Regions from separate parts of the Homo sapiens genome. Here region 2 is linked to region 1. The links are contacts of gene promoters, found by promoter capture Hi-C in blood cells and fetal thymus (Javierre and others, 2016). All regions are on one chromosome and are shown on one strand. The core of a region is centred on a gene start or on the middle of the fragment in contact, and the rest is flanking DNA. Distances in the headings are between cores, read along the strand shown.

What was found. The method cuts DNA at HindIII sites, captures the fragments that hold promoters and counts their contacts. A CHiCAGO score of 5 or more calls a contact.
Region 2: a contact is called between a fragment that was not itself captured here and the fragment with the promoter of LBX1 in region 1, in 1 of 17 cell types (M1 macrophages). The highest score is 5.1, in M1 macrophages.

What each region holds. Positions count from the first base shown.
Region 1 is chr10:101,227,038-101,231,536 of GRCh38, reverse strand. LBX1 (ladybird homeobox 1) reads left to right here and starts at 2,074. Exons shown (of 2, transcript NM_006562.5): 1 at 2,074-3,046; 2 at 3,747-4,499. The coding sequence starts at 2,722. The coding sequence ends at 4,267. LBX1-AS1 (LBX1 antisense RNA 1) reads right to left here and starts at 1,943. Exons shown (of 3, transcript NR_029380.1): 1 at 1,723-1,943. The HindIII fragment of the contact is 27,362 bases long and covers 1-4,499 here.
Region 2 is chr10:101,725,001-101,729,432 of GRCh38, reverse strand. The region is part of intron 1 of LINC03046 (long intergenic non-protein coding RNA 3046); the gene reads left to right. Among named protein-coding and RNA genes, the nearest start is that of LINC03046, 2.9 kb to the left of the region's middle. The HindIII fragment of the contact is 285 bases long and covers 2,945-3,229 here.

The sequences.
Region 1 (4,499 bases), core at 825-3,324:
CAGAGCTTCCAAGCCACCCAGATTCAGCTCCCCAACGCCCTCTCCCACCGGTCCGCCTCTGCTGGTCTCTAGGCTCTGACTCCTCTGTTGCTAGGCCCAGCAGCACCTCGTGGCTCCCAGGGCAGCGCAGAAGAGTAGAGACAGGTCTGCCCTGGAGTGGGTCTGCAGCTCTGAGGGAACTGTGATTCCCATTCTCACCAATCCTGCCTCTGAGCATTTGTCTTCCCCCCACTCGCTTACTGCCACCCCGAAAATGCAGGACAAAGATGAGTTAGAGGGTAGGGGTTCTTCCCAACATTCACAGAACTGGGGCACCAAACAAGAACCCTTTCTCCCTACACTGTCCTTTTTACCCCAGAGAGCTGCCAGCCACAATTCCAAACAAACAACTGAAGGTGAGATCATGAAACCTATCTCTGCTGTGCAGAGGCCCCCTACGCTGAGGCATCCAGAGAAAGAACCTGCTTCCCGCCCCGGAGCCCAGCTTAGCTCACTCCCTCTCTGGGGTTAGATATGAGGGGAGAGGGGGCAAGAAATCCTAATCTTCCCATTCCAACCCTTGGCCTGGGCCACAAATCCTCACTTTGGCCTCTCTGGGCCCTTTTCTGGTCCAAGCGGTGCTGCCCAATGCCCAACCTCACCGCCCACCCAGGAGTTTACAAACAAAGCCAGGGCCAGGGCTGTGTGTGTGTGGGAGGGGAACAGCCCTTCTCCCTGGACTCCAACCCCCTCTAGGTCCTCCCCTCCTTTCTCCAAGGGCAGAAATGGAAAATTAGTAAGGAGGCCAGTGGCCCCACATAAACAGAATGGGGTAGCAAGACAGGAAGGCCTGAGGGCACAGCCCTGCTGGAATGCCTCAGGGAAATGAAAGAAATAGCTGAGTTCAAACACACCTATATACCCACAGGTTCACACACATTTACACAAATATACGCATGGAGAAACACACACAAACACACATTCAAAAACACAAACACCTTCAAGTAACAATGCACACAACATGTTCTCCCGATATTCACAGATCCCGGGCCCTAAGGTCTTTAGCCCCAGCCTAACTGGAAGCCTGGCCTCCCTGCGAGTTCCTGAGAGCAAAGCCCCAGCCGCGGCCTGGCTCCCGCCGGGCCCCCGCCCCGCATCCGGAACAGCTGGAGTCGGCCTGGCCATGCACTCAAGCCGGGCGCTGGGCTAGGCGGGGCCGGCAGCGGGGCCCCGGCCGGGGCCCGGGCGGAGCGCAGCAGGGAGGCACGGAGCCGGCCCCGTTAGCCCCGGCACCTGGCCTGGCTACTCTTCAGACGCCCATCATCAGGCCGTTGGTGGCCCCAGCCAGCCTGGGGAGCGGCTGCCGGAGGAAAGTGAGCAAGATTGCCGGAGGAGGTAGGGCGGCCGCTTCGGAATCAGGCCGGGGAGAGGCGTCCAGAGCCGCCAACAATTCCCTCCTCCGCCTCTCCGCGTGGAGAAGGCTGAGCTCTCCGACTAGCCCCCTCCCCCAACCCCTGGGGTCCTCCACCCCCTTCCCGCGTCGCCCACCCAAGGCTGCGCAGCCGGCTCTGACCTCCTGCGGGCCAGCGCAGGAGGGCTTCAGATTCCCTCTCCCCAGGCGCGTCGCCCAGGCAGTGGGGTGAGGGGCAAGAGGGTCAGAGGTAGAGGCGCTGGGCTCTTGATCTCAGCTCCGCAAAGTCCACTCTGGGTGGCAGCGGGGCCCACCCGGGCTCCTGGTCCTACCTGGCCCGAGCGGCGGCCGCGTCCCTCCCGGGCTGGGGTTCCCACCACTCTTTCGGGCTCCACATCCCGGGTCGGAGAGACCGAGACCTTCGGGCCGGTGCGGTCATTGCAGCTAGGCCGGCGGGAGGCGGGTGCGCCAGGAGCGCGGCTCGCAGTTTGGGGTGGGGGCGGTGGCTTTTCAGTCGCCCGAGGTTCGGGTGCAATAAAGGAGCAGCTAATGTAATTTACAAACAGCTCGGGCCGAACGCAGCGCAGCGCCCGGACTGACAGGCGCATTAGGCAGGCTAATTCCAGCCGGCTCCTCCTACCCCCGGCCCGCTAATTAATGAGCTTCCCAACTTACAGCCGCCTGCATTGGACAGACAGAGAGTGAAAGAGAGGGCGAGGGAGAGGGAGAGAAGGAGAGAGAAGGGGGGAGCAGAGAAGAGAGAAGAGAGAGGGAGGGAGGGAGAGCGAGAACAGGAGGAGAGAACAGAGGCAAAGAAGAGAGGAAAAAGGGAGAAAGGAGAGAGAAAGAGAAAGAAGTGCCGCTGCAGATAATTGATTACACCGCGATCAAGGCTAACTTGTTAGCAATAGTCAATTGCCCCGTCTCTCCGCCTCCCTCGCAGTCCGGGATCGGCGCCCTCGCCTCGGCTCTTCCAACTGCGGCCGCCAGGACCCGGGGCCAGGAGCCACTGCCGAGCCACCTGACACCTTTAAATAGCACCGGGGTTGGCGAAACTGGAGCCCCGCGCAGCGCGCCCCGGCTCCGGCCCCGGATTGCTGGAAGCCCCAGCAGCAGCGGCGCCCGCGTCAGCGCCCTCTTCCCGGGGCCCCGCGCTGTTCTCCCCTCCTCAGCCGCCGCGCTAATCGGCCCCGCGCCCGGCCCGCGCCCTGCCCAGTGCGGCCTCCTTTCCACCCGCCGCTGCCTGCCCGCGCCGTCCGGCGCCCGAGCTGCCCGCGGGCTGGGTCCCCGCGGCCCGAGCCGCCCCGGCCGGGACCCCGAACAAGGCCGAGATGACTTCCAAGGAGGACGGCAAGGCGGCGCCGGGGGAGGAGCGGCGGCGCAGCCCGCTGGACCACCTGCCTCCGCCTGCCAACTCCAACAAGCCACTGACGCCGTTCAGCATCGAGGACATCCTCAACAAGCCGTCTGTGCGGAGAAGTTACTCGCTGTGCGGGGCGGCGCACCTGCTGGCCGCCGCGGACAAGCACGCGCAGGGCGGCTTGCCCCTGGCGGGCCGCGCGCTGCTCTCGCAGACCTCGCCGCTGTGCGCGCTGGAGGAGCTCGCCAGCAAGACGTTTAAGGGGCTGGAGGTCAGCGTTCTGCAGGCAGCCGAAGGTAGGCGCAGCTGCTGGGTTCCCCTGCACCCAGCGCCTCGCGCCCTGTGCCCTGCGCGCTTCGTCCCCTATGCCTCTGCTCGCCTCTGCCCTCTCCGGCCGCCAGGGCCTTCCAGCCTGAGCAGCTGCTTATGGGAGTGAAGATATGTGGGACGGGACCCAATCCTTATTTCCCAGGGACCTCTGGGTAGGCCAGAGCTGGGGGGTGGCAGGAGAAGGGTGGCCAAGCTCTTTCCGCAGTCTGCTTGCTTTGCCGGGCTCCCTTGCGTTCCCAGTGTCCTGGGCGCTCTTAGCCCGGCTACTCGGCGTGGGGAATCGAGAGTCTTTTGCCGGGGACCTTATGGGTAGGGTAGAGTTGAAGTGATTGGGAAGGGATGGAGAACCAACATTCACACCGCAATTAGGGTGTCTCTGTCTGGCTTTCTCATACCCTTAGAGACTTTGGGTCTTTCAAACCAACTCTTAGGTAGGGGGCAGAGACCAAAACAATTTTTCCTAGGGACTTCTGGGAGACCAAAGACAGGAGATGGTTTGCCATAGCCAAGACTTGCCCTGGTCCTGGAGGCTGAATTAAATCTGAGAAGGGAACATTGGTAGACTGCAGGCCGGACAGGCCTGGGTGGGTTACGGAGTTACGGGGGCGAGAGCCAGGGTGGGCTTCCTCTCTCCCAACGCGAGCCTACACTGTCCTTTCCTCCCAGGCCGCGACGGTATGACCATCTTTGGGCAGCGGCAGACCCCTAAGAAGCGGCGAAAGTCGCGCACGGCCTTCACCAACCACCAGATCTATGAATTGGAAAAGCGCTTTCTATACCAGAAGTACCTGTCCCCCGCCGATCGCGACCAAATCGCGCAGCAGCTGGGCCTCACCAACGCGCAAGTCATCACCTGGTTCCAGAATCGGCGCGCTAAGCTCAAGCGGGACCTGGAGGAGATGAAGGCCGACGTAGAGTCCGCCAAGAAACTGGGCCCCAGCGGGCAGATGGACATCGTGGCGCTGGCCGAACTCGAGCAGAACTCGGAGGCCACAGCCGGCGGTGGCGGCGGCTGCGGCAGGGCCAAGTCGAGGCCCGGCTCTCCGGTCCTCCCCCCAGGCGCCCCGAAGGCCCCGGGCGCTGGCGCCCTGCAGCTCTCGCCTGCCTCTCCGCTCACGGACCAGCCGGCCAGCAGCCAGGACTGCTCGGAGGACGAGGAAGACGAAGAGATCGACGTGGACGATTGAGCGGCGCCCCGGGTCTTCCGCCGCCCTGGGCTCCTAGCGCTCGAAAGCCCAACGCCTCCCGGACCGGACCGCCGAGGGGAGCTGGGACCTCCTCTGCCAACTCCCGCCTCCTCCCCTGTCCCCGGCCCCGGACTCGGCTCCTGGCAGCCGCCTCTTCCCTCTCGAAGCAATAAACCCAGGCTGGCCGGCCGGGCCGGCCGCCACCAGCGGCCTCCGCCGCCCCGGAAGCCCT
Region 2 (4,432 bases), core at 1,838-4,337, 500 kb before region 1:
GCAGGGTAACAAGCAGCCATTTGTACACCCATGACCATAGCAGCATCATCTACAATAGCCAGAAGGTGAGAGTGACCCACATGTCCATCGATGGATGAATAGATAAATAAAATGGGATATATTCATACAATGGAATATTATTCAGCCTTTAAAAGGAAGGAAATTCTGATACATGCTACATCATGGTTTGAGGCTTTTCCTATCCAATTCTGCTTCCTTCCTCATTTGTCTTTCACAGGGGTTACTGCCCCCAACCACCAAAATCTTATTTTGTCTCTGCATCTGCTGCCCAGAGGACCCAACTGACACAAAGTTCAATAATGACTCCTTCTGCAGGATTTGTCCAGCCTGTCTGAAAATAGAAGGCCTAATTTCTCCTTCTTGTCATTCTACATCTTTCTCTCTCTCTCTCTTTTTTTTTTTTTTGAGTTGGAGTTTCACTCTTATTGCCCAGGCTGGAGTGCAGTGGCACCATCTCGGCTCACCTCGACCTCTGCCTTCCGAGTTCAAGCAATTCTCCTGCCTTAGCCTCCCGAGTAGCTGGGATTACAGGCATGCGCCACCATGCCCTGCCAATTTTTGTATTTTTAGTAGAGATGAGGTTTCTCCATGTTGGTCAGGCTGGTCTCGAACTCCCGACCTCGGGTGATCCCCTGCCTCAGCCTCCTTTGTATATGTATGTAAATCTATGTATGCATATCCCAAAGTGCTGGGATTACAAGCATGAGCCACTGCACCCGGACTGTTAAAAAAAACTTCTGACTTTCGTTCTTGATTAAAGCACTCGATTATTTAGCATTTATTAAATATTCACTGTTTAACATTATTCACGCTAACCTGTATTAGGAGGGCTTCCATTTCTTATCTCATTTAATTCTCAGGTGAGTCCTGTGAGATGAGGTGAAAGGAGAGTCTTGAAAGATTAGGTGATGTATCCAAGGTCACATTGTCAGAGGGTGACAGGTAGTTTGTTCAGATCTGGTTTTCACCCCCTTAGAGAGCCCTGCCTTCCTGTCTAGAACCTTCCCTGCCTCCATTATTCTCTATTCCTCTGCCAAATTTTCTATTTCACCATAGCATTTACCGCTGTCTGAAGTCACCATTCTCTGTGTTTATGGAGGACAGAGGGTCTGTCTTACTGACTGCTGTATTCCCAGAACCTAGAACAGAATCCGGCAAAGAGTCATTGAAAGGATGCTTAAACTCACCTTTTTTTTTTTTTTTTTTTTTTTTTTTTGAGACAGTCTCACTCTGTCGCTCAGGCTGGAGTGCAGTGGTGCGATCTCGGCTCACTGCAACCTCTGCCTCCCAGGTTCAAGAGATTCTCCTACCTCAGCCTCCCGAGTAGCCAGAACTACAGGCGCCCACCCCCACGCCTGGCTAATTTTTTTTTGTACTTTTAGTAGAGATGGGGTTTCACCATGTTGGCCAGGCTGGTCTCGAACTCCTGACTTCAGGTGATACACCCTCTTCGGCCTCCCCAGGTGCTGGGATTACAGGCATGAGCCATCCACCGGCTAAGCTCACCTTTAAGGCATGTTTATATTCATTGTTTTAAATAATAGGTCACATTTGAATAACACTCTACAGTTTACAGAAACTGTGTTTCTGCTGGCTGTCACCTCCCTTGGTCATCCTCACAGAAGCCTTTGGGGCAGGCCCAGCACAGGTTACTCCTTCTTCAGGGTCTGCTCAGACTTGCTGGTTCTTCAGCCGGGGATGCCCCCAGTTCTTTGCCTGCATCACTCTCTGCCTCCTTCTATGTCCGTTCCTCAGGAAGGCTGGCCCTGGTCTTGCAGCCCAGGTCAGGAACCCTGCGACATACTCTCTTCTCCCTTTGTAAGTCTCTTTGTGGCCCTAATCACAATGGCAGTGAAATCATTATGCCAGTATTTTATGATAGGCTCCCTGACTAGCCAGTGCTCCACGGGGACAGGGCCTTGTCATGCCTGTATACCTCACACACCCCTCACTGTGCCTGACACAGAGTAGGTGCTCATTAGATGTGTGTGTATTTGTATATGTATGTATATCTATGTATGCATATAAAATGAATTATTTCCAACAAATAGACTAGGAGATCGAAGCTCTATGGTCTCAGCCAGGGGTCCCCAACCCCCTAGGCCATGGACTGGTACCAGTCCATGGCCTGTTAGGAACCTGGCTGCACAGCAGGAGGTGAACATCAGGCATAACTGCCTGAGGTGTACCTCCCATCAGATCAGTGGCGGCATTAGATTCTCGTAGGAATGCGATCCCCATTGTGAACTGTGCGTGTGACGGATCTAGGTTGCCCACTCCTTATGAGAATCTAACTAATGATCTGAGGTGGAACAGTTTAATCCCAAAACCGGCTCCTCCACCCCATCCAAGGAAAAACTGTCTTCCGTGAAACCTGTTCCTGGTGCCAAAAAGGTTGGGGACCACTGGGCTAAGCCACTGGCTTGAAAACTTTTTGTTAGTTACCTATAGTAGAACGTTTATTGTTCATTATGACCCCAGGAATCATACATACACACGTGTACTTCCCCTTACTGTGGACTAAGCCCTGGTATTTTCTATTCTACTCAATTTATTTTATTAAAACATTTTTTAGAGCCTGGCGCCATGGCTCACACCTGTAATCCCAGCACTCTGGGAGGCTGAGGAGGGCAGATCACCTAAGGTCAGGAGTTCGGACCAGCCTGGCCAACATGGTGAAACCCTGTCCCTACTAAAAATACAAAAATTAGCCGGGCTTGGTGGCAGGAATCTGTAATCCCAGCTTCCGGAAGGCTGAGGCAGGAGAATCGCTTGAACCCAGGAGGTGGAGGTTGCAGTGAGCCGAGATTGAGCCGCTGCACTCCAGCCTGGGCAACAGAGCAAGACTCCATCTCGAAAAAATTTTTTTTTTAGTTCCAATCTATTTCATTGATTTCATGACCCACTAACATCTATGGAAGCTTAGCCAATGTGACTTGTTCAAGGTCCCATAACTAGTAGAGTGGTGGAAGCCAGTATTCTCCTGCCTATTACATTCTGGTGGGTTTCTTGCCCTAAGGCAAAACTAAAAGTTTTGTGTCAGTTTTGATAACAAAGGAAAAAATTCATTCTTTTACTTCTCAGTCACAGTTCAGGCAAGGCTGGTCTCACCATCTGCAGGCATTTCAATTAGGTTCATCGAGGTACTTCAGCTTTCTGCAATGTAGCTATCCAGAAGGTTCCTCCTAGAAGCTCCAAAGGGAAAGCTTTAGTCCTAATGGGTGGCACACCCAGACTTGCTGGAATTCTCATCCGAATTACACAAAACATTAACATATGGACAAAGGCACACTGCATATTAAATGATTTACTGGGGTCAAAGATCAAGTCAATGGCAGGCTTAACGTTAACCTGCCGCACGCAGATCCTCAGAGTCTGCTGGGCTAAGACACAGGGAAGCCTTGGCTAGGCTGGGCCCAGCAGCCCGGACCTGGTCAGTCATCAGCAAGTTAATCTACAACGGCACCTTCTTTTCCTACCAGAGGGAGGTTTGACTTGAACTTTTGGAAGACCTGCCTATTTGGAATCCAGATTCCTCTGCTTCAGAGGCTAATTTAGCTGGTGTTGGATGCAGAAGCCTAGAGAAAGCCGAAACTTATTTGTTCTTTTATTCCTGGATTTATAATTTGACCTAATATACTGTACGTCTGTACATATGTTGATCTCAGAAAATGTTTGAGCTTGCCTGCTGCTCAGGCCACGTTGGCAGACAGCTGTTAAAGCCATCAGCAATGTTTGCTTCCAGTTACAAAAGAAAACATTCTCTATTTGGGGCTATGTTGTTGTTTTCTTCTTTCCTGATTTAAAAGGGGAAGTATGTTTCCCAGTAGAGATGTGGGGCTGCCCCCATCCCCTTCTAGGGTTAAGAATGACTAAGAAAACTTTTCAGCACACCTGGCTCATCATCTTTCTAATATTCATACTCTTTTTCTCTCCCTGTGGAAGTATCCTCAGGGGCTTTGGTTTGAAATTATTTGAGCAACTGAGCAGGTTTCTCTCCTTTCCCTGGGGACACCAGTTTATGGTTCAACATCTCCCTCAAACACTGGTGTGTTTTTAGCTAAGAAAGACTCAGGTTTTGTCCCATTATCAGGTGCACTGACAAAATAACTGCTGATGGGAGTAAGAAAACACGAGTAATTCTAACTCCTGCCCAGAACCTTTGAAGGAATGCACAAACTCTGACCTTGCTTTGGTGCTTTGGAGAGACCATCTGGGGAAAACTTCATTTCCAAAAACATATATGAATTTGAGAGTTCCTCTGGCTGAGATGGAGGAAAAGCCATATGGTAAATGGCGGGGTGGGGGAGGGTCACATATGCAAATATTTGTTTCAGAGAAAACAACTCAAATCAGAGTTGTCCATGATACGTCCACCCTTGAATGCCTGACCTGTGCACTGGGGAGGAGG